Regions from separate parts of the Homo sapiens genome. Here all the other regions are linked to region 1. Evidence: promoter capture Hi-C in 16 types of primary human blood cells and fetal thymus (Javierre and others, 2016). All regions are on one chromosome and are shown on one strand. The core of a region is centred on a gene start or on the middle of the fragment in contact, and the rest is flanking DNA. Distances in the headings are between cores, read along the strand shown. Region 1 holds the start of C19orf12 (chromosome 19 open reading frame 12). Region 2 overlaps URI1 (URI1 prefoldin like chaperone). Region 3 overlaps URI1 (URI1 prefoldin like chaperone). Region 4 holds the start of UQCRFS1 (ubiquinol-cytochrome c reductase, Rieske iron-sulfur polypeptide 1). Region 5 has its middle 87 kb from the start of URI1.

Evidence for each region. The method cuts DNA at HindIII sites, captures the fragments that hold promoters and counts their contacts. A CHiCAGO score of 5 or more calls a contact.
Region 2: a contact is called between a fragment that was not itself captured here and the fragment with the promoter of C19orf12 in region 1, in 5 of 17 cell types (activated CD4 T cells, total CD4 T cells, naive CD8 T cells and 2 more). The highest score is 6.7, in activated CD4 T cells.
Region 3: a contact is called between a fragment that was not itself captured here and the fragment with the promoter of C19orf12 in region 1, in 3 of 17 cell types (total CD4 T cells, naive CD8 T cells and non-activated CD4 T cells). The highest score is 5.8, in total CD4 T cells.
Region 4: the fragment with the promoter of UQCRFS1 here is called in contact with the fragment with the promoter of C19orf12 in region 1 in 4 of 17 cell types (naive CD8 T cells, total CD4 T cells, total B cells and 1 more); the score reaches 7.7 in naive CD8 T cells.
Region 5: a contact is called between a fragment that was not itself captured here and the fragment with the promoter of C19orf12 in region 1, in 2 of 17 cell types (non-activated CD4 T cells and naive CD4 T cells). The highest score is 5.4, in non-activated CD4 T cells.

Annotation. Positions count from the first base shown.
Region 1 is chr19:29,714,011-29,717,641 of GRCh38, forward strand. C19orf12 (chromosome 19 open reading frame 12) reads right to left here and starts at 1,251. Exons shown (of 3, transcript NM_031448.6): 1 at 1,115-1,251. RefSeq lists a silencer at 786-1,575 and enhancers at 1,746-1,845, 2,391-2,610. The HindIII fragment of the contact is 2,629 bases long and covers 1-2,537 here.
Region 2 is chr19:30,008,865-30,013,520 of GRCh38, forward strand. URI1 (URI1 prefoldin like chaperone) reads left to right here. Exons shown (of 11, transcript NM_003796.3): 8 at 141-489; 9 at 2,230-2,372; 10 at 3,421-3,667. Among named protein-coding and RNA genes, the nearest start is that of URI1, 69 kb to the left of the region's middle. The HindIII fragment of the contact is 3,913 bases long and covers 1,053-4,656 here.
Region 3 is chr19:29,971,724-29,976,969 of GRCh38, forward strand. All of the region lies in intron 2 of URI1 (URI1 prefoldin like chaperone), which reads left to right. Among named protein-coding and RNA genes, the nearest start is that of URI1, 32 kb to the left of the region's middle. The HindIII fragment of the contact is 5,284 bases long and covers 1,142-5,246 here.
Region 4 is chr19:29,210,002-29,215,424 of GRCh38, forward strand. It overlaps UQCRFS1 (ubiquinol-cytochrome c reductase, Rieske iron-sulfur polypeptide 1), which reads right to left and starts at 3,150. Exons shown (of 2, transcript NM_006003.3): 1 at 2,904-3,150. The coding sequence starts at 3,117. It overlaps UQCRFS1-DT (UQCRFS1 divergent transcript), which reads left to right and starts at 3,252. Exons shown (of 2, transcript NR_184022.1): 1 at 3,252-3,407; 2 at 5,280-5,423. RefSeq lists a silencer at 2,744-3,053 and an enhancer at 3,094-3,333. The HindIII fragment of the contact is 13,970 bases long and covers 1-5,423 here.
Region 5 is chr19:30,026,942-30,031,810 of GRCh38, forward strand. No RefSeq gene overlaps it. Among named protein-coding and RNA genes, the nearest start is that of URI1, 87 kb to the left of the region's middle. RefSeq lists enhancers at 3,362-3,411, 3,477-3,976. The HindIII fragment of the contact is 1,517 bases long and covers 1,066-2,582 here.

The DNA of each region.
Region 1 (3,631 bases), core at 1-2,500:
TCTCTTTCCCTCTCCCCTTCCTTCCTGCTTTTTGTTGTTGCTGGTGTTGTTGTTGTTTTTTCCAGAAACGCAGTCTCCCTGTGTTGCCTAGGCTGGTCGGGAACTGGCCTCAAGCAATTCTTCCGCCTCGGCCTCCCGAGTAGCTGGAACTACAGGTGCTATTCCAAGATGGTGAAACCCCGTCTCTACTAAAAAATACAAAAATTGGTCGGGGTGGCTCACGTCTGTAATCCCAGCATTGCAGAAGGCTGAGGCAGGTGGATCGCAAGGTCAGGAGTTTGAGATTAGCCTGGCCGATATGGTGAAACTCCGTCTCTACTAAAAATACAAAAAAATTAGCCAGGCTTGGTGGTGTCGCCTGTAATCCCAGCTACTAGGGAGGCTGAGGCAGGGGAATTGCTTGAACGAGGGAGGTGGAGGTTGCAGTGAGCCGAGATCGCGCCATTGCACTCCAGCCTGGACAACAGAGCAAGACTGTCTAAACAAAAGCTCAACAAACTACCTGCCATCCCCAAAACTAATCTCACCTCCTAAAGCATTAACGACCCTTCCTGACCAAATCTAAACTAGCGCCCAGATTTTCTTCCCATATGGCTCAGCCCAGCTCCGCTGCCCCACAGGTGTCCTGTCAGGATCCGCTTCACATTTATAATACCTAGCACCCCACCCCCAGCCCCGCCCCTGCCCCACCAGCCACCCCCACTCTACCCCACCCCTACCCATCACATTCCGCACCCCACCCCCGCCAAACCCACATCCCCACCCCACCCAACCTCACCCACTCCCACCACATCCACCACCCGCACCCCACCCCCACCCACCACACCCATGCCTACGCCACTCCTGGGTGACAGCGAGCCAGGGCCCGGGACTCTAGTCCCAGCTCTGCTGCTTACTTGTGTGACTTCAGCCTCTCCATGCCTCAGTTTCTCCATAGGGACAATGACTACACTAACAGTGTCCACCCCGGCACCGGGAGGGCCGGGCTCCCGGCAGGGCGGGGACCCTCTCCCCAAGGCACTCCCGGGTCTCCAGGCCTGCTCTTGGGGTGCCCCCTCCTCTCGCGGGGCGCGGCCTGGGAGGCGCCCCGCCCCGGCTCCGGGCGCTCCTTTACCTGGGGGAGCGGAGGTCTACGCGGCGCGCTCGGCGATCAGACGCGGCTGCAGCCCGGGCCTGGCAGGCCCCGGGCTCCCCGCCCAGCTCCCCAGCCCCGCGGAGGGTCGCGCAGGCCTTGGTGGCGGCCCCGGCGCTGGCCCCGCCCTCCGTCCCACCTTCCGGCTGCGCCGGGCCTTCCGGGAAGCCACGCGCCGGGCCAGCTCCTGGCTCCGAGCTGCGCCCGGCCTTAGGGGGAGCCGGGGGTCGCTGCTGGGCACCCCCTCCCCGGTCCTGGCCCACCCCGCCGCTGTCACCGGGGCCCTGGCTTGGGTTGCGGGTGGCGTAAGGAGACGAGGCGCCCGGAGAAGAGTCCTGGGAACCGCAAGGCCGCGCTCCCGCAGGCCCAGCCCTGCCTTTCTCCCACGCGCACGCATGATCACATCCGGGCCCCGCGCACCTGCCTCCAGGACCGCGGGGACCTCCCGGAGACCTCCCTCCCTTTGGCCTGGAGGACCCCTCTCTCCCCGCAGCCTGGGCACAGAAGAGAGCACAGGGGCATCTGGAGGTCAAGGGTGCTGCGTCAGTATTTGGTGAATGTGTGGGCCGGAGCCAGATTTCCTCTGTTCCAGAGCCTGCTCTGGAGCCTCTGGGTCTGGGGGTTGCAAAAGGAGAAGCAGGTTGGGTGGGACTCGTAATCCCAGCTGCCAGTGAGGCTGAGGAGGGAGGATTGCTTGAGCCCAGCAGTTCGAGCGTGGGCAACACAGTGACATCCCATCTCTACAAATAATAATAAAAATTAGGCCGGGTGGGTGAGTCATACCTGTGACCTACAGCATTTTGGGAGGCTGAAGCGGGAGGATTGCTTGAGCCCAGGAGTTCGAGGCTGCAGTGAACTATGATCCCACCACTGCACTTCAACCTGGGTGACAGAGTGAGACCGTCTCTTAAAGAAAGAAAAAAAAGGAAAAGAACTGGCTTTGCTCTTAGGAGTCTTGGATGGGGACCAAAGCTGAGGCAAGGCAGCCTCTTAGGAAGGTGCAAAGGGCATGAGGCTGGGGTTGCAGAACTGCCTGGGAATACTACTTTATTGAGGCCTGTGGAAAGCTGTCCCTACTCTTGTCATGCAAGGTCTGGCCTTGAACCATCTCAAATCCAAAAGTGGCTTCTGGGGGGCTCTATAGAGAATTAATCCTAACAGGAACCCTGCAAAGCAGGCATGGTTGTCACTGCTATATTACAGATGGGAAGCTCTAAACACAGGCTGCTCTGCCCAAGGCCATCCTGGTTAGAAAGTTTCAGGGCCCAAACTCCAGCCTCGGTCTCGGTATCTCAAAGTCTCCGCCTGTGACCAGCACTCTGCCTGCTTTCCAGGGTGCCATGGGCACCCAGAGGACGGACCCTTTTCCATTTTTAAAAGAATGGAACAAACGCTCTTAATACCAAGCTTCCCCAGGCCTTGGCTGGGATAAAACAACCCCATTTATTCCTGAATCGGAGCTTTTGCTTGAGTTTGGGTGACTTTCAAGAGGGAAAGTGAACTGAGGCCAGGGGAACTCAGCTTGCTGCCTTCCTGGGGCCTGAGTGTGGCGCTCCCGTTTCTCTGCGGGCAGCTCCCTCTGGCGGCACATTGCAGAACTGGCCTGCAGACTCCTCCCCCAGAGATAGTGGGGAAGAGGGCCTGTGTAGGGAAAGATGCTGGGAGTGAAAGAAGCTTCAAAGTCCAGGCCCTCCAGAGAAGGCAAGCATGTAAGAGGTTCATGCAGCCCAGCGCGGTGGCTCACACCTGTAATCCCAGCACTTTGGGAGGCCGAGGCGGGCAGATCACCTGAGGCCAGGACTTTGAGACCAGCCTGGGCAACATGGTGAAACCCCATCTCCACTAAACATGGAAAAATGAGCCAGACATGGTTGGTGCAAGCCTGTAGTCCCAGCTACTCGGGAGGTTGAGGCAGGAGAACCGCTTGGACCCGGCAGATGGAGGTTGCAGTGAGCCGAGATCGCGCCATTGCATGCAAATCTGCAACCCATCAGCCTCCTGGGCCTCATTCTGATACGAATGCAGGCATAACATGACCGCACACTCTGAACCCCAGAGATGGAGCACACAGTGCCTCATGCTCCTAAAGGCAACTGCGGCCTCCTGCACAGTGAGCAAGGCGTGCCGTGGGGTCTCGGTGGTGGCGCGGAAATGGCACTGGCCCAGCACACAGCGATGCTTTATGCTGCTTACAGTGACCTAGGGAAAGTTCTTCCACGTCTCCGTGCCTCAGTTTCCTCATCTGGGAAATGGCAACAAGAGTAGTACTTATCCTATAGGGTTGTTCTCAACATAAAAGGAGGTAATATATATGAATCTAGATTATTCTTGTTTACATTACAGAATGTGAAAATGAGCGGCTTCTCCAAAGTCCCATGAGCCTCATGGGCCCAAGGTAGTGGGAAATCCAGTTCTACCCCCACCTTGACAAAACATTCTCTTGCTGATGGGCCCAACAATGCCCTAGGGTGCTAGGTGGTGTTCACACGGCCAGCCAGA
Region 2 (4,656 bases), core at 1,759-4,258, 300 kb after region 1:
TTGTTTTTGAACTTAGAATTCTAGTTTTAAAAATACTTTATTCAAGATCTTAGTATTTACCCATGGAAACTAACTGGAAATTTAAATAATGTAAAATTCTAGTATGTTTGTTTGATCTTGTTAATTTTCTTCCTTGCTAGTAAGCCTGATACTGTGATTGCAAATGGAGAAGATACGACATCTTCTGAAGAGGAAAAGGAAGATCGTAACACAAATGTGAATGCGATGCATCAAGTAACAGACTCTCATACTCCTTGTCATAAGGATGTTGCAAGTTCAGAACCATTCAGTGGTCAAGTGAATAGTCAGTTGAACTGTTCAGTGAATGGTTCCAGTTCTTACCACAGTGATGATGATGATGATGATGATGATGACGACGACGACGACAACATTGACGACGATGATGGTGATAACGACCATGAGGCTTTAGGGGTTGGAGATAATTCTATACCAACAATATATTTTTCACATACTGTTGAGCCTAAGAGGGTTTGTATACTTTTAACTTTACTAATTTTGCATATAATTTGAACATTAAGCATTATGATATTTTTTAGAAGAGCAATATTAACAATCATTATCATTGTGGATAGTGCCAGACAGGAAAATCATCTTTTGCCTCTTGTTCTGACCAATTTAAGAAGAAAAAGGGAAAAAAAATTTAGTTAGCTGGTATTGGTCCATTGTTCTCTGAAACAATGCATTGTTTGGGGTCTGGAAGGGGATCAGATTTGAGTGGCAACTACTGTAACTTCACCTGTCCTTCATTCAGAGAGTTTTCTTAAGAATCCTGGAGTTAATTATATTGTGGACATTTTGGTGTGCTTAGGATGTTGAAAGTGACTGCATTAGTTAAATTTTTAATTATGCCAGGTTGTTTTCTATGGACATAAAATGAATACTTCATAGGCACAAAGGGAAAATGTAGGAGGAAGTAAAAATTAGTTTCTTTTCTGACAAAGTAAATATAAACATCTGTGGATAATCATGACTTAGAATTTTGGCATTTTAGAGCTGGGGGTGACTGGAGATTTTCTAATACAGAGTTTTAAAGCTTTTCTCTAGTATGAAAAGCCTTTTGTTCCCTCCATACTTACTGTAGAATCCCAGTATTTAAAATAGATCAAAGCAGCTTGGCTCTGATTGAAGGAAGGATAGGCTGCCTTAAGTCCATCTTTGCCCTCTCTCTGCTCCATGTACTGCTCTAAGGGGACACTGGGAATTCGTCTAATTCGTCTTTCTCAGGGAAATTTAAGGCCTAGAAGACATAGATCTGGTTGGTAACAAAACAGGAACTCTTTCGCCTCTGAGTGCCCTTTCTACACAATATCCCGATTGCCTGTATCAGTTAAGGGTCTGTGGTATCATTCTTAAGTGTGTGTGATTATTATTTAGTGAAATATGTTTAAAACATATTTGATATTTCTTAGCTTCCTAAAGTTATTCCTGCTCCTATATGAAGTGAAATAATTGTTTGTGTTTTTATATTCTAATATGTCAGACTGAAGGGGTCTTCCCCTGATTCTTCGGGAAAAGTTGACTGAGATGATTAGCCAGAAAAAAAGGTCGCTTTTTAATCTTTTGCCAGGCTTTTACTTTTTTCCTGTTTTCATTTAGATAAAACAGAAAGAACAAATATTATTTGCAGGAACGTTACAGGTAATAGTGGTCATTATTGTGGAAAGTATGCTCTAAGTGCTGACTAGGGATAGAAAAATAACATGTTAACCCCATGTGAACCCTGAACAGGCTTGGTTTTTATTTTTTTACTCCTTCAATTTCTAAAAATTAGAGATGTTTTAAAAATTCTAAATAGGCATTATTTAATAGTACTTTTATGACTTAAAGGTTGTATTCTTACTGAATTTTTGTTTATACTCTTTCTTTTGAAATACATAATTCAAGCCAAACACTTATATCAAAGGAATGGGGTGATGGGAAGTTTATAAGAAATCTAGCATTTAGTTCAAATGTATTTTGCTTTCTCTACAATAATAAAGACACTGAAGACTAGGATTTGTTAATAAAGAAGATTTTCTTTAGATGTCATAGATCTATGAGATAAGGACTTTTTAAAAAATTCCATCTGATAATGCACATCATTTCAGCATCAGAAAATTTCAGCTGCCTCTCTTACTATTATTTTTTTAGTTATAGAGTTTATTTGTTTTGGTTTCACTTTGATTTAATTTGTCAAAAGATTCTTAATTTCTTGCTCTGAAATTTTAGGTCCGAATAAATACTGGAAAGAATACCACTTTAAAATTCAGTGAAAAGAAAGAAGAAGCCAAACGTAAACGAAAGAACAGCACTGGCAGTGGCCACTCTGCCCAGGAGCTGCCGACCATCAGGACGCCTGCAGACATTTACAGGTGGGAGGCGCTCACAGCTGCAGGGCAGTCTGCTGGGCTTGCCTCTCTTTCTGCCACTGAACCTTTACTGGAGAAAGTTGACTGTAACACAGAAGACCCTCACTGAAAAGTGAAGTGTTCTGAGGAGTTAACTTAGGATCTGATAGGCTGACCGGCTGTAGCTTCCCAGTCCAGAGCAGTGGGAATGGAGGATTTTTTTTTTTTTTCACTTTCTCCTCTTCACCAGTGCTTTTGAAACATTTCCAAATGGTCTAGTCAGAAAATCTTGTATCTTCAGAAAGCATTTTTGTTTCCAGTGGGCTAGGTCCCTACGTTTCTACCACAGCCGTAACATGCTTGGCATGCAGTTTACCTTTTCAGAGTAGAAATTATACTGTTGCAGGTTTTTTTTTTTTTTCCTTTTTTTTGGAATTGTTTGTTGAGAAAACTATCACTTGAAAATACCTACTGTTTTTATGACCCTTATTTATAAATCAGTGAAAATTGCTAAATGTATACGTGGGTCTAAAACTTTATGTAGAATTTTGGCAAACCATGCTATTGCCACCTAGGACATGCTTAAAAATAACATGCTGTGTTTTTGTTCTCACTCATAGGTGGGAATTGAACAATGAGAACACTTGGACACAGGGTGGGGAACACCACACACCGGGGTCTGTCATGGGGTGGGGGGAGGGGGGAAGGATAGCATTAGGAGATACACCTAATGTAAATGATGAGTTAATGGGTGCAGCACACCAACATGGCACATGTATACATATGTAACAAACCTGCACGTTGTGCACATGTACCCTAGAACTTAAAGTATAATAAAATAAATAAATAACATGCTGTGTTTTATTATTAGGCCAGAGAAATAGCTTTCAAAATAGTATGAAGATACCATTTGAGGCTATAAAATTATTGTGATTGTGACTATTTTAGATATAAGATTGTAATAAAAATTTTCAGATTAATTTCTAGAATAGATTCAAGGAAATTTTCAAAAAGTTGTTCTCAGTTTTATGAGTTACGTATAGTGAATGCATATGTGTTTTGAATATCACAGAGCCTTTGTTGATGTTGTGAATGGAGAATATGTCCCTCGCAAATCCATCCTGAAGTCTCGAAGTAGAGAGAATAGTGTGTGTAGCGACACTAGTGAAAGCAGTGCTGCTGAATTTGATGATAGGCGGGGAGTTTTGAGGAGTATCAGCTGCGAAGAAGCCACTTGCAGTGACACCAGTGAGAGCATTTTGGAAGAGGAACCACAAGAAAATCAAAAGAAACTTTTGCCCTTATCAGTAACACCTGAGGTGTGTGTGTGTATCTTTTAATTCTTTATTTCATATAGTATCTTTGACCAGTTTTAGCTATTTAATCTGAAAAGTCATAAGATTAAATTAATTCTAGGTTTTATACTTTCTTGGTACTAATTAATAAAAAATTAATAGTCACAAACAGTACAAATATTGTGATAATCAAATAGTTTATTTTTTGATAAACACATTACTTGTCTTAACGTTCTATTTCAGCAAAATGGGAAATTTAAAATGTCTTACTTGGCATTATGTATTACATTTGTAGCTAGGAAATTATTTCGCAGTTTATTTTAAATAAATTACCAGTAGGTCATTTTCTGATAGTGTAAGGAGCAGATTACATTATTCTCTTTTAAATACCTTGGCTAAGTTAAAGAAAAATAATGCATGCATAGCAGATAATTACCTAAAGTCTAATATTTTACCTTGTACCAGTGAAACTTAACTCTTGGGGGATTATGGAATTGTTTTATAATCTGATGAAAGCTGTAGACCCTGTCCATAGAAAAAATAGTGCACACTCAATACACTTTCACCCACCACACTTCTTACAGTTTTTGGTGGTGGTGCAGGGGAGGTTAGGAAATCCCCAAATAAGGATGTCTGTGAAATATAAGGCTATTGATTTCTTCATTCTTGTGTTTTGGTGCGTATTTGAAGTTTTCAATTTAAAAAGTATTTAGGAAGATTGGGGAACCCATGCCTGGATCAAACCAGTGTACACATTTGTATATACAATAAGATACATGCATATATATAACCTTATCTAAAAATTCCATTGCTTTTACTAAATGGTATTATACTCAGTGTATTAAATGGTAATTGGGGATGGAGATTGGTAGCATTTAGGGACAGTACATATGACTAGAATGTTTTCTTCCCCTCTTCTTAGTATAATGATCTTAGGTGACCTGGAAAGTATCTTACCTTATTTGATAGTCTTCCATACTGTTAGAAAACAGGTAATGGATGTTATCAGGTAA
Region 3 (5,246 bases), core at 2,534-5,033, 260 kb after region 1:
AATGTGCTAATCTATAGTTAATAGGACCATGTTTGGTAAATAACACACTTTCCTTTGGCTTCTGAGGAAAATGCTCGATTTAATGGTGAATAAAATCTTATATTATGAGTTGTCATGAAGTATAGCTGTTGATCTTACAGATATCAAATTACAATATATCCATGCTGTGCTTACGAAGGTTTTACTGAGAGAACAACAGGAGCTGTCTTGATTATTGTCTGCAGGGTTATTGCAAAAATCATGGTAACTGCCCCTTTAGTGGTGAGATTAAACCTTCGGTTATACACCATCAAGCATATAATATTTTAAATTTATTTTAAGAGGCTTTTTCTTCATGCCTGAGAGATCTCCAAGGAAATAATTTATAGTTAGTGTATATCAAATGTTTTTTGGTTTAAATGCACATAGGCTGCAGGCAGTGGATAAGAGTGAAAATTGGTGCAATCTGTACACATCATCTTATTAAATTTTGACTATTGGCTTGCAGAAAATAATCTAAAACTAATAATATCCACTTTATAAGTAAAAATTCAGGACTTCATTAATTTTCAATAAATGCATCGTTGTAGTTGCTTCCACTGGTGGTGTAAGTGTGTTAGCATTTCCATAATGGACCATTCGCCTTTCATTATACATTCAGTTCAGGTTAAAACTTGAAATACAAGTCGTTGGCCAAAGAATTTTTTCCCCTGCACATTTAGTCAGAGTGGCCCATTTTACAAATAATTTCCAGAGGAAGTTTATTAACGTGGACTTCTGTCTATTGGTTTTGGTAAGAAGTTCAGGAAATTAGAAAGGTATTCACTGGAAATAGATGCTAGTTTACATAAATGGGTGAATGGTAACTTGCTTCTGGTTTGTTTTATAAGATTCTTATTAGAGTTCTTTAAGGATAAGGGCACGTTTTCATCCTTTTATTCACAGCCCCTACTGCTATGTTTGGCACAAAATAGGCACTTGATAAATGTTTGAGTAAATGACCAAATATGTGGTTATTTTCTATATAACATTTTAGTTTACAAATACTCTAGTAGTGCACAAGTCTAGTGAGCAGTGACAGAAATGTGACATTTACTTCATGGCAGGTTCATGTGACCCTCAATTTCACTTTTCAGTTTTGTAAAACCCTCTAAACTGTAGAAGCTTAGCATATTTGCCTACACATATCTTGAAGTAATATAGTACTTTATACATTTAAAAAATTATTTTTTTCCAGTTAAAATTTGCATTTTCCTCTGAATCATTTCTGGTTTGGTTCAGGAAACAGACTTTTCTCTTTGCTTTTAATGAAGATCTATACATGGTATATTGCTCAAATCTGAATGGCCAGTAAATTAATCAATTCATTATATCAAAAAATTGAAACCAAAGTGTCACCATTTCCCTGAAAGCAAGGAAATTGCTGTTTGGGAGAGTCGTGGAATTCTTGTGATATTTTTGCATTCTCTTAATTCCTCAAACAATAGTTGAGTTTCTACCATATGCCAGTATTGTGCTGCTGTTTGGAATTGAAAGACCCTGCCATAGAAGAATTCATAGCCAGACATATAACAGGGAAATCACGATAATTTTGTGCTATTTGCGGAGATATGAAGCAACTACAGGAGTTCAGAGGCTGGAGCCGTTCTTAGGGTGTCTCACACACTACTTTTAAAAGCATGTTGCTTTAATTCCTACTTAACCCTTGGTATTAGCCTAGTCTAAAATATAATTTCTGTTAAGCCCCTATTCTTTATGAGTACGCACCAGTATAGTAAAGAAGAACAAAATATATGGTTTGAAAAATGCATTCTTATGCTGGTGATGTTTATGCTTGTTTGTATAATTTTTAAGGGATTCTTTAAGGAACAAGTATATGTATTCTAGGCTCAGAAATAATCTAAATTGGTTTTTGTTTAAAAAAAAATGTAGGACAGGGAGTAAAAATATTTATAGAAAAATAGGAGTGAAAATGGTCTGGGACCACAGGATCTACCCAAAAAAATCTTTGAGAAAATTAATTTAAATCCTAGAACTTTGGTGAACGAAGAAATTTATAATATTTGTTTAGTTAATAACAGATAAAAAGGAAAGATTCAAGCCTATTGGATGAGAATTTGTACATTATTTTAGAGCTAATAATAATGGTTTTCAGTTTAGTGAGGATTTAAAAAATGTTTTTGAATCAAACTTTTTTTCTTTATAATCCTTTTTAACTAACTCAGGAAATAAGGTATTATGAAATCCACACACTGTTACCTCCTTAAAGTATGAGGATACTTCCCACTGTTTGGTCCACTAGTGGCTGATTATTTTGTTTGTGGATTATTTGTAATTTTCTTTTTAATTCTTCCTTAAAGAGCATGGCATTTGGAGTCACAGACCTATATTTGAATCCTGTCATTTACTAGCGTTTTGACCTTGAACAATTATGCTCAGAGTCTCAGTTTTTTCTTGTAAAGTGATGATGATACTACTTAACTCACAGGGTTGTAGTGAAGATCAAATGAGATCATGTCTGTAGAACACCCTGCCCGGCACTCAATAAGTATTAATAGGAACCCATATACCTCTTTTGAAAATTTTAATTGTCAGACAAATAAAAAAAAAAGCCAGTGCTTTGTAAATATTCGTGAATATTTAGTGTTCATTCTGTTTTTTTGTCATGATGGAGAGAGAGTTGGGTTTCTGTGAATTACTGTTACAGCTTTACATTAATATTTTTAAATCACTTTTTGGTATGAAGAATTTCAAATGAAAGGTGATAGAGTAGTATAGTGAATCCTCATGTACTCATCAGTCGGCTTTGATAATCATCAACTCATGATTTTCTCTAAACTGTTCATTTCAACATCTTATCTTGCCATCTACTCCTACCTCCAATTTTTTTTTAACTTTTATTTTAGATTTGGGAGGTACATGTAGAGGTTTGTTGCAAAGGTGCATTGCATGATGCTGAGATTTGAGGTACAATTGAACCCATCACCCAGATAGCATAGTACCCAGTAGGCAGTTATTCAGCCCTTGCCCCTGCCCTTTCTCACCGCTCTTGTATTCCCCAGTGTTTATTTGTTCCCATCTTTATGTCCATGTGTCCCCAGTGGTTAGCTCCCACTTATAAGTGAGAATATACAGTATTTGGTTTTCTGTTTCTGCATTAGTTCGCTTAGGATAGTGGCCTCCTGCTGCATCCATGTTACTGCAAATATTTCTTCTTTTTTATGGGTGTGTAGTAGTCCATAGTATATATGTATCACATTTTTGTTATCCAGTTCACTGTTGATGGGCACTTGGATTGATTCCATGGCTTTGCTATTGTGATCATTGTGGTAGTGAACATACAGGTGCATGTATCTTTTTGGCAGAATGCTTTTTTTTTTTGGGTGGTCTGTATTCAGTAATGGATTGCTGGGTTGAATGGTTGTTCAGTTTAGTTCTTTCAGAAATCTCCAAACTGCTGTCCACAGTGGCTGGACATTCCCACTAACAGTGTAAAAGCATTCCTTTTCTTTGCAGTCCTGCCAACATCTGTTCTTTTTTGACTTTTTAATAAAAACTATTTTGCCTATCCCATCTCCAGTTTTGAAATGAATCTAAGCCGTATCATTCCATCTGGAAATATTTCAGTATATATCTTTAAGAGACAAGAAAGACTATATATTAACTTTTTAAGATTTAAATAAAAAATATTTAATGAGACAATACATTTACATGTTTCAAAATTTAGGAGGTATGAAAGGATGTAAATGATGTATAGGTTCCTCCTAACTTTGTCCCCTAATTCTCAGTTCTGTTTACTTTTTTTTTTTTTTTTTTTTTGAGATGGAGTCTCACTCTGTCATCCAGGCTAGAGTGCAATGGCATGGTTTCGGCTCACTGCAACTTCTGCCTCGCGGGTTCAAGCTATTCTCCTGACTCAGCCTCCGAAGTAGCTGAGATTACAGGCGCGTGCCGCCATGCCCAGCTAATTTTTTTAGTATTTTAGTAAAGACGGGGTTTCACCGTGTTGCCCAGGCTGGTCTCGAACTCCTGAGCTCAGGCAATGCACCCTCCTCCGCCTCCTAAAGTGCTAGGATTACAGGTGTGAGCCACCGCACCCGGCCCCTCAGTTCTGTTTTCTGGAAACAGCAGTTTTTTACCAATTTCTCATAAATCTTTTCAGAAATGGTTTGCATAATGTAAGTGTTTGTGTATGTATGTGTGTGTGTTGTGTGTGTGTATTCATCTACATGTTTATATACGGCTCCCATCCTTTTGGACAAAAATGAAATCAGATTGTACCTGTTCATTTAATACTATACCTACCCTGTATCATTAACTAACAGTTCCTCTTTACCTCATTCCATACATTTTGCTGTATGTCAGACATTTAACTTTTAGGATTACTAAATGAGACCTGGAACTATTTTTTTTTAAATAAATAATTGCTACATGACTGAGAGTATAGCTCTGAACTCAAAATATATCCTTGCTAAGATGATATATCTGTTATTTTACTGCTCCTTAGTAAAATTACTGCAAAACTTAGTGGCTTGAAACAACCACCATTTACTTGCACATGATTCAGTGGGTGTGCATATTAAGCTGGGCTCACCTGTGTGGTTCTTCTGCTAGTCTTGTGTGGGCTCACTGCTTTGGTTGCAGCCAGTTGGTGGCTGGGTCAGCTTTGTTGTCCAGAATGACCTCACCCTCAAGTCTGGTGGTTAGTGCTGTTGGTTGAGCCTCTGCCTCCATGTGCTCTTTTGTCCAGCTTACTTTCTATGGGCATCTCAGCAGCAAGAATGGAAGCTGCAAGGCCACGTTATGTTGGTCAAAGGAAGGGCCAGCGCAGATTCACAAGGTGGGAAGATAACACCCACCTGTTGAGAGGAGGCGTGAAAAAGAATTAATGGTCATTTTTAATGCACTGCAATGACTTTATTGAATAGGTCCTACACACACAAAAAGGAAGTCTCCGTCCTTTATGTTGACTGGTGAGAATGAAATGAAATAGTACATGTGATGCCTGGCAGTTCATCTTTATGTTAGGCATTACTTACAATCGTAAATCGTATGCATGTGAGTTGTAAAAAATTTATTGCCTTGCTTCCTTTATTTTAAAAGGATTTTTGGTAAAGGTATCTTTGAAATTACATGAAACAGACTTAAATATAGAAGAAGATACTTTGTTCAGGTGTTTAATTTTGGAAAGAATACTTTAAATTTAGACATAAAAGTTCTAAAACACTTTGGCATGTGAGTTTTGAGAGAGTCTAAAGCAAATACTC
Region 4 (5,423 bases), core at 1,900-4,399, 500 kb before region 1:
GAGCTGCATTAGGTCTGACTTTCAGTAAGATGCTAGATTTAATTCTAACCTAAAGCAAAATCAAATACTTAAAGGAGAAAATTTAAGGAATTTTAACAAAACAAGTTTTATTTTAAGGTTGAGCTCCAATGCGCCTTGGAAATCTGCATGAAAATAGTACAACCTTCCTCTCCAATTCAAGAATCTTCTCCAGATCCAACCCCTCCACTCCCATAAGCCATCCTGCCATGAACCATCTAGACAGACTATAATGTGAACTTAAATTACAGGCTGAAATGATTACAGAAAAGGTTTTTGCCTTATGGTTCTACATTATTTGCCTGTTTCTAAAAATAGTTTCTCTAAGTCAGGTAAACCTCCAATTTTTTTTTTATTATACTTTAAGTTTTAGGGTACATGTGCACAATGTGCAGGTTAGTTACATATGTATACATGTGCCATGCTGGTGTGCTGCACCCATTGACTCATCATTTAGCATTAGGTATATCTCCCAATGCTATCCCTCCCCCTCCCCCCACCCCACAACAGTCCCCAGAGTGTGATGTTCCCCTTCCTGTGTCCATGTGTTCTCATTGTTCAATTCCCACCTATGAGTGAGAACATGCAGTGTTTGTTTTTTGTCCTTGCGACAGTTTACTTAGAATGATGATTTCCAATTTCATCCATGTCCCTACAAAGGACATGAACTCATCATTTTTTATGGCTGCATAGTATTCCACGGTGTATATGTGCCACATTTTCTTAATCCGGTCTATCATTGTTGGACATTTGGATTGGTTCCAAGTCTTTGCTATTGTGAATAGTGCCCCAATAAACATACATGTAAATGTGTCTTTATAGCAGCATGATTTATAGTCTTTTGGGTATATACCCAGTAATGGGATGGCTGGGTCAAATGGTATTTCTAGTTCTAGATCCCTGAGGAATCTCCACACTGACTTCCACAATGGTTGAACTAGTTTACAGTCCCACCAACAGTGTAAAAGTGTTCCTATTTCTCCACATCCTCTCCAGCACCTGTTGTTTCCTGACTTTTTAATGACTGCCATTCTAACTGGTGTGAGATGGTATCTCATTGTGGTTTACAGGCAACCTAAAAATTGGGAGAAAATTTTTGCAACCTACTCATCTGACAAAGGGCTAATATCCAGAATCTACAATGAACTCAAACAAATTTACAAGAAAAAAACAAACAACCCCATCAAAAAGTGGGCGAAGGACATGAACAGACACTTCTCAAAAGAAGACATTTATGCAGCCAAAAAACACATGAAAAAATGCTCAGCATCACTGGCCATCAGAGAAATGTAAGCCTCCAATTTTTTGAAGAAACTTTAGCAACACGACGAATTCCAAAGATGCTTTTCTTTTGCTATTGAAATGTTCTCCTTCCTTCCTTCTCACCTCCAGGTCCCAAGGATGGGCTAGGGTACTCTACACCTGCCATGGACAGTTTCTTCAAAACCCACTGATGCTCCTTAACAAATATTCATTCACAAATACTTTGCACTAACTGTATACAAAATCCGACGTTGTGAAAGATAGAAAAATAAAGAAGATATTACCTTCTCTATGCCCTTAAGCCCAAGGGTGGAGGAGTTACCAATAAACACAATACAGAGTGTAAAGTGTATGTGCTACAGAGACAGACAAATCAGCAAATAAAAACTTTATTCACCTGATCCTTAACTGAGATTGAAAAGATGGGTAAGGAAAACATATGGACATGTAGCAACTTAGTGGAAGGACCATGAAGAAAGTGCAGAGCCCAGGGTGAATGAAGACAGAGTAAAAAGAAAAGTGGCGGGCAATTTGGTTAGCGTGTAGGGGAAGAGTCACAAACAGCTATCAGTGGAGCCAGGCTGGTAACAGAATGAAACACGCAGACCTGGTAAAGACTGTGACAAACTGGAGAAGACCACTTGCTCCAACTGCGGGGGCGGCCACTACACAGCACACTATGGAATTTTCCCAAGTAGAAACTAGATCCCAGTATTACCGGCTTCCAGCATTTTAAGAGATGCCATTAGTCTTCCCAGTTTTTTTGAAAACTACACAGCCTGCAGACACACTGCCCACAGGCTGCCATTTCTCTATCTCCGATACAGGGCCAAGTAAAGATGGAAGGCGAGGCAAAGAAGATAAACGGGGATCTAAGGACAGAGGGTGTGGAATAGCCCCTGCGAAGAGCTCAGTGGCTACGACAATTCGTCTTGTCAAATCCCTGCTACCACATGTCCACACCACGGATCCTGGTGCGAGTCATTCTACCTCGTCTGTTTTCTCATCTGTAAAATGTAAATGTCGTCAATCTCTGCCCGTCCTTGACGACTGATTATGTTGTGACACTACACTGTAACTGACCTTGTGTATGTTTTTTTTGTTTTTTTTTTGGTGGGGGGGTGATGAAGGGGAAGGACATGAAGGGATCGGTAGTGGTGAGAAGACCAACTTCCCAAATATTAGTAAGTTTCCATTTCTTAAGCATGTAAGTGCCCAAACTGTGCTAACGGCTTTACGTAGAATTCCTCCACCTAAGCCTCACGACACCCCTACAAAATTGATAAAGATATGAATCCATTTCACAGGAAGTACGTTTAGAAACTCGCCCAAGGTCAAACGACCTGCAAGCAACAAAACCCCTCAGAGGTGGCTGGAACAGCGGGACTACAGAGCTCGTGAACTCGGCCGAGGAGGAACCAGGCGAAGCCGGCGGACGCGAGTCCAGGCCGGCCACCAGAAAGACGCCCCGAGCCCGGGGGCCAGGCCCAGAGTTGCGGAGGCCGCCCAGCCCGACCTGATTCAGGCTCCGCTCGCGCGCCCGCGGCCGCTCCCTGCTGGGGGCCGGAGGAGCGGGCACCGAGAGACCCCCAGCCCTGCTCGCGGCCCTCGCCCCGGCTCACCATTGAGGCCCACGGAGGCGACCAAAGGCCGGCGCACGGCCTGGCCGCTCAGCGACTCCCGGCTGAGGAAGGGCCGCTTCAGGTCCAACACAGGCTGCTCCGGGGTGGCGGGCACCGTGGCCTGCACCAAGGGCCGCAGCGCGCCCGCCACCCCGCGGGACGTGGCCGACAGGACGGGCGCGAACGGGCCTGAGCGGGATGCTACCGACAACATGGCGACAGCCGCTCCAACCGCCAAGCCGGTCACAGGGACGACCTTCCAACCACGGCGCAGGCGCGAGGAGGCGCGGGACGCGTGACGACAGCGCGCCGCCGGAAAGGAAATTCTGCAGTCCTGCAGGGCGGGGCAAACTTGGAGAGGCGCTGCGTCGGGGGACGGGGCTACAAGCCGTCGCTGGGGGCGGGGCTTGCGGCCCACCTGTAGGTCCCGGTGCCACCTCGTCAGTGTCCCGAGAGATCCCCAGAAGAACGAGAGGGCTGAACAGGGGACCCCACTGACGTCCGGTGGGCCGACTTTACGATCCTTTAGGGTAAAAATTTCATCTAGGAAGACCTAGAGATAACAATAAACGATTATAGTTTAACTTAGGATGGTAATATATCTCAACTACGACGAAGTCCAGCACATAGTAATCGCTATGTGTTTACTATGATGATTTTTATTATCTTCATCTAACAACAACAACAACAAAAAGGCCAGAGGCATCTGTGCAAAGCTCGATAATGCTAATGGATTATGTTTATTAAGTATTCACTGTGTATTTGGTTTTGCGTTTTATTATACCTACGTTCTTTCATTTGTTATCAAGGTCTCTATGAAGTCAGAGCTATTACTATCAGCATTTTACCCATGAAGAAACCGAGGTTTAGAGAGATTCTTTTCCAGGAACTGGATAGCCAGCAAGATGTGAAGCAGGGTAATCTGTCTCCTGAGTCTATGCTCTTCAGTGCCACCACTGTTTCCCAAAGTAGGATTTTAGAATTTTAGAGGATGCACAGAGCTCGCTCATTCATGTTCCATCACATAGTGAGAAAGTTTTGTTTTCTTTTGTTTTGTTTTTCAATCCTGATTGCACCAATGAGAAAGTCTCAGTTTGGTGCTAATACATCTTTAATTAAAAAAAAAAAAAAGTAGAGATGAGGTCTCACTATATTGCCCACTCCAGTCTCGAACTTCTGGCCTCAAGGAGTCCTGTCTCCCCCTCCCAAAGTACTGGGATTATAGGCATGAGCAAATTCACTTGGCCTCAGTTTGATCCTAATATATCTTTAATTCCTCTCTACACTTATCTCCCACTTTTAACAGAAAAGATCTTGAGTTAGAAGCTCTTAGCAGAGAACTGAGTCTAGAGTGATTTCATTATATGGTTCATAGTATTGATTTTCTATCCATACTGGTTTTCTATTCTGTACTATACTGAGATAAAGTTTTTCATTTAGGTCAAAAATAATTTAAATATTAAGTAAATGTTAATATAAGCAGTGCACAGAATTGGCTCTGTGCTGTGCATGGGCTCTGTGATCTGGGCAAGTTCCCTCACCTCTCTGTGCCTCAGTTTCCTCACCTGCCAAATGGGGGCAGTAATGATGCCATGTGTGTTGTAAAGTTACTGGGAGGAGTAAATGAACTAAAACGTGTAAAGCATCTACAAGCAGGCCCAGCACACAGGCAGCACCAAGTGAGGATTTGCTAGTGGTGTTTTTATCTGAGATGCCACCTCCTCTAAGAAGCCTTCCCTTGATCCTTGCTGACTCGTTGTTATTCCTCATGCCAGGTCCAAAGTGTACTGACAGGTTTCCCCTTTGACCTTCCTATGACTCCCCTTAGGGCCTAGGCTTTGACCAGCCTTATAGCCCAAGGGACTATATTGTACTCTCAAGATTGGAGGCTGCCTCCTCAGGGGCCACCCTAGCCAGGCTCATCACACAGCTGGCTCAGTGCTCTCCCTTGGCAACAACCTTAGGATAAAAGACATTTCCAGAGAAGTTGTCACACAGCATGCATGGTTTGAGTGCTTCACAAGAAATAATATCACAATTCCCTCTGAGTTGGTAAGGAAATGAAAAATGAATGAATGAATGAATGATCCTTCACAAAACCTTCACAATGTCCCAGTTGGGTGAACAGAATAGGAATTATCTCCAGACCTCCTGGGTTCAATTTTAGTTTCACCACTCACTAGCTGTGCCCTAGGGCAAGTTATTTAATCTCTGTGTGTGCCTCCGTCTTTCTCTTGTAAAACAGAGATAATAACAGGATCTACCCTAGAGAGTTATTTTAAGGATGAGATGGATTAATACATGTAAAATGCCTAGAACTGTGCCTGGCACACAGTATGTAAATATCTGCAATAATAATAACTTTCTATTTTCTAGATGAAGAAACTAAGACTCAGAGAAGACAAATGACATGCCCAAAGACACATTGATAAGAACGCATCTGGTAGTGGTGTTCGAGTCCAGCGTTGCAGCAGAGAGATGGGTAACTGTATGGCCGAACAGCTGTCTTCTCGTGGAAGA
Region 5 (4,869 bases), core at 574-3,073, 310 kb after region 1:
TTGATAATTTGACTCTTTGTAGGAATTTGTCCATTTCATGTAAATTATTGCATTTGTCATCATAAAGTTGTCCAAAGTATTCCTTTATAATCCATTTAATTTCTTAAGTTGGCAGCAATTTCCTTTTTATTTTACTTTTTTTGTAGAGACAGGGTCTCACTATGTTGTCCAGGCTGGTTTCAAACTCCTAGGCTCAAGTGATCCTCCTGCCTTGGCCTCCCAAAGTGCTGGTATTGCATGTGTGAGGCACCGTGCCTGGCCTGTGATTTCCTTCTGATTTTGCTAATTTTTGTCCTATATTTTTTGTAATTCTAACTATAGGTCTGTCAGTTTTATTGACCTTTTCAGAGAAACTTTTTGATTTTGTTGATTTTCCTCTAGTTTTCTATTCCAGTGACTTTTACTTTAATCTTTATTATTTCCTTTCTTCTTCCTTGCCTTTTATAGTTTTTAAAGGTGTTAATCTATTGATTTGAGACTACTGTCTTCTAATGTAGGTGTTTAAAGATATAAATTGACCTCTAGGCACTAACCCTTAGCTGCATCCAGTGACATTTGATTTGTTTTAATTTTTCTGTAGTTAAAAATATTTTCTAATTTCTCTTGAGATGTCTTTTTTGACTCATGGGTTACTGTAATATGTATTGTTTAATTTCCAAATATTAGTGGGTTTCTCAAGTTTCTTTCTGTTGGTTCCTGCTTTAATTGTGTTGTGTCTGGAGAAAACATTTATTATGTCTTTAGTTTTTAAAAATTCATTAGGACTTTTTAAAAATGGGTAGCATATGTTCTCCTGTGTGTGCTTCAAAAGAATACGTATTCTGTTGTTTTATGGAGTGTTCTGTTGATGTCATGTCAAGGTCATTGTTATTGTTGTCTTCTGTATTCTTGCTGATTTTTTGTCTACTTGTGCTATCCGTTATTGAGAGTGGGATACTGAGGCCTTACACTATTATTGTTAAATAGTCCTACCTTTCAAGTTCTGTTAGTTTTTGTTTCATGCATTTTTTTCTCTGTTGTTAGGTACATATATGTTTGTCATTGTCATATCTTCTGATTAATTGAAGCTTTTATTATTACAAAATGTCCCTTTTTTCTCTAGTAACATTTTAATTTTAAAGCCTATGTCAGTTTTGTCTGATATGATTATGACCACTCCACCTTGGTTATGGTTATGCTTATGTGGTATCTCTTTTTTCATCCTTTTTAGCATTTGTATCTTGTGGGCAGCATGTGGTTGAATTTTGTTTTTAAAAAGTCTATTTTGCCAGCCTGTCTTTTTATTGAAATGTGTGTTAATTCATGTAATTGTTGATATGGCTCATTTACATATCAATAGCTCATGCCATTTTGTTAGTCATTTTTTATATGTCATGTCTTTTTTGTTCCTCTGTTCCTCCTTGGTTACCTTTTTTTGTGTATGTTAAATAAATCTTTTAGTATAAACTTTGAATTCCTTTACAAAAAGAAACTGTACTTTTTTTTTTTTTAAACCCACAAATTTATTTCTTACATTTGTGGAAACTGGGAAGTCAAGGTTAGCAGCTGATTTGGTTCCTGCCGAGGGCTCTCTTCCTGGGCTGCAGATGGCCTCCTGTGTCCTCACATAGTAGAAGAGAGCTTTACTCTTTTTTATGAGTTATTTTATAGTGGTTGCTCTAGAGTTTATAGGATGCATTGTAACATTATAACCTGCGTCAGAATAATACTAACTTAATTCTGGCAGACTTTGCTTCAGCATAGCTCTAGTCTCTTTTTCCTTTGTCCTATTATTGTAATATATTTTATAACAGTACAGGTTTATTATTTATAACTATATGGGTTCATTATTTTTCCATGCAATTATCTTTTAAGTAAGAGAAGAAAACTTAAAAAGAGTATTTTTTCTATTTTTTACATTTGCCTACATAATTACTTTTACTGGTACTTTAATTTTTTATGTGGATTCAAGTTACCATCTGGTGGTGTTTCCTTTCAGCCTGAAGTACTTGCTTTAGCATATCTTGTAAAAAAAATTTTGGTGGCAACAAATTCTCTTTGTCTATCTGGGAAGATCTTTATTTTTGTCCTCTTTTTTGAAGGATAGTTTTACTGGATTTAGAATTCTTGTTTGACAGTAGAGTATGTTATACCACTTAATTCTGGCCTTCATTGTTTCTTTTGAGAAGTCAGCTGCTAATTTTACTGGGGTTCCCCTGTGCATGATAAGTCCATTTTTCTCTTGCTGCTTTCAAGATTTTGATGTGTATCGGTGTGGATATTTTAATGTTTATTCTACTTGGATTTTATTGAGATACTTGGATATACAGATTTATACTTCTTACTAAATTTGGAATGTTTTCAGACATTAAAAACTTCTATGACTCTTCAAAAGATGTCAAAACTTGTATGGCCCTCACTATTCTTTTCTTCTGGGATTCCCATTATGCATATGTTGGTATTGATTGTAACCCACAGATTTCCTACTTGGTTCATTTTTCATTCTCACTTCTGTTCTTCAGATTGTGTAATTTGTATTGATTTATCTTTGAGTTCACTGATTCTTCCTTCTGCATTCAAGTTTGCTGTTGTCCCTCTAATGAAGCTTTCACTTTAGTTACTTTTCAACTCCAGAATTTCCATTTTTTAAAAAATGTTGATCTCTTTATTAAGTGTTCTCTGATTAGTCATTGTTTTCATGCTTTGATTAAACACGGTTTTCTTTTGTTCTTTGAAGATGTATTTTTATTGGCTGCTTTGAAGTCTGTCTGTTAAGTCCAACATTTGGGAACCCTTGGAAATAGCTTCTGTTTATACTGAGTATTTTTTTTTTTATACTAGATAAGCCATACTTTCCTGTTTAAAACTGGACATTTTAAATAATACATTGTAACAGCATTTATTTCTGATACTCTCCTGCCAGGGGTTATTGTCCCTTTTTTTGTTTGTTTTATGACTTGGCCAAGATTAATAATGAGTTTTTCTCTACAGCGTGTGGCCTCTGATGTCTCTCCTCAGTTATGTTTGACTACTTATGGGTCACCTTGGATCAATATATCTTAGTGATCAGCTGGTGACTGGTCAGAGATTGTACTTAGGCATCTTGTTTTGGTAAGACTTTCATCCTTTGTCAAAGTCTCTGTTTTGTTTGAGGAACACACTGAAAATTTATGCAGTTTACGAGTCTTCCCTGGGGGTATGTATATAGTTAGAGCCTTCTCTGGTCTCTCAGCATGTTCATACCCTAATATGCCCATTACCTTTCAAAATGTAAGCTTATCAAGGACTATGATTGTCTCACTTCCTGATTGTTTCTGTTAAATCTCCAGGCAGAAAATTTTTTTCTTCTGATCTCTTTTTTGGCCCAGCTATAGTATTTCAGCTTCAGGTCATCTATGATGTATGTGGACCTCTCCTATGTTTGGCACTGAAATTGCTATATTTAACAAAGCCCCTGGGCGTTGGGTTTTTCCACGTTGTTTCAGATTGAGTCAGCTCCCTACAGTATAAATGCTTCTGGTTTTACAAGCTGTCCCACCCTGTTAGAACTATTGTCTGAAGGAGCTGGGGTGAGGGAGAGTGGTCACAATGCCACATACTGTCATCATTTTTACCCAACTTTCAGTAGTTTTCTTGAATAAACACTTCTCCATTTGTCCTATGTTTTGGTCAATACTCAGAGGTGAAAAGTAGTTGTTTTTGATAATTTTGTCTAATTTTTTTAAAAGTCTGTTTTTTAAGAGCAATTTTAGATTCACAGCAGTACTGAGCAGAAGGTACAGAGATTTTCCATATATCCCATGCTCCCACACCTGCATAGCCTCCCCTATCATCAACATCCCCACCAGAGTGATACATTTGTTACAATAGTTGAATATCCATTGCCACAGTAGTTGAATATCCATTGCCACATCATCACCCGAAGTTGATAGTTTGTATTAGAATTCACTCTTGGTGGACATTCAGTTGCTTTGGATAAATATATAAGAACACATATCCACCATTATAGTTGCTGAGTAGTCTCACTGCCCTAAAAATCCTCTGTGCTGTGCCTATTCATCCGTCCCTATGCCCCAATACCTGGTAATCACTGATTTTTAAAATTGTCTCCATAGTTTTGCTTTCTCTGGGATGTCATGTAGTCGGAATCACATAATGTTTAGCTTTTTAAGATTGGCTTCGTTCTCCTTTGAGTTTCCATAATGTCTTTTCATGGTTTGATAGATCTGAAAATAATATTCCATTGTCGGGATGTACCGCAGTTCATCCATTCACCTACTGAAGGACATCTTGGTTGCTTTCAAGTTTTGGCAAGTACAAGTAAAACTGCTATAAACATCAGTGTGTGGCTTTTTGTGTGGACATACGTTTTCAGCTTCTTTGGGTAAATACCAAGTGGTATGATTGACAGATCATATGGTAAGACTATGTTTTGTAAGAAACTGCCAAACCGTCTTCCAATCTAGCTGTACTATTTTGCATTCCCACCAGCAATGAATGAAAGTTCCTGTTGCTCCACATTCTAGCCAATATTTGGTGGTGTCACTGTTCTGGATTTTGGCTATTCTAATAGGTGTGTAGTGGTAACTCATTGTCATTTTAATTAGCATTTACCTGATAAAACATGATATGGATCATCTTTTCAGATGCTTATTTGCCATCTGTGTGTCTTCTGGTGAGGTGTCTGTTAAGGACTTTGGCCCCTTTTTTAGTCAGGTTGTTTTCTTATTGTGTTCAATTTAATACTTATTTGTGTATTTCAGATAACAATCCTTTGTCAGAAATGCCTTTTGCAAATATTTTCTCCCAGTCTGTGGTTTGTCTTTATATTCTCTTGACAGTGTCTTTCACACAGCAGAAATTTTAATGAAGTCCAGCTTATCAGTTTAT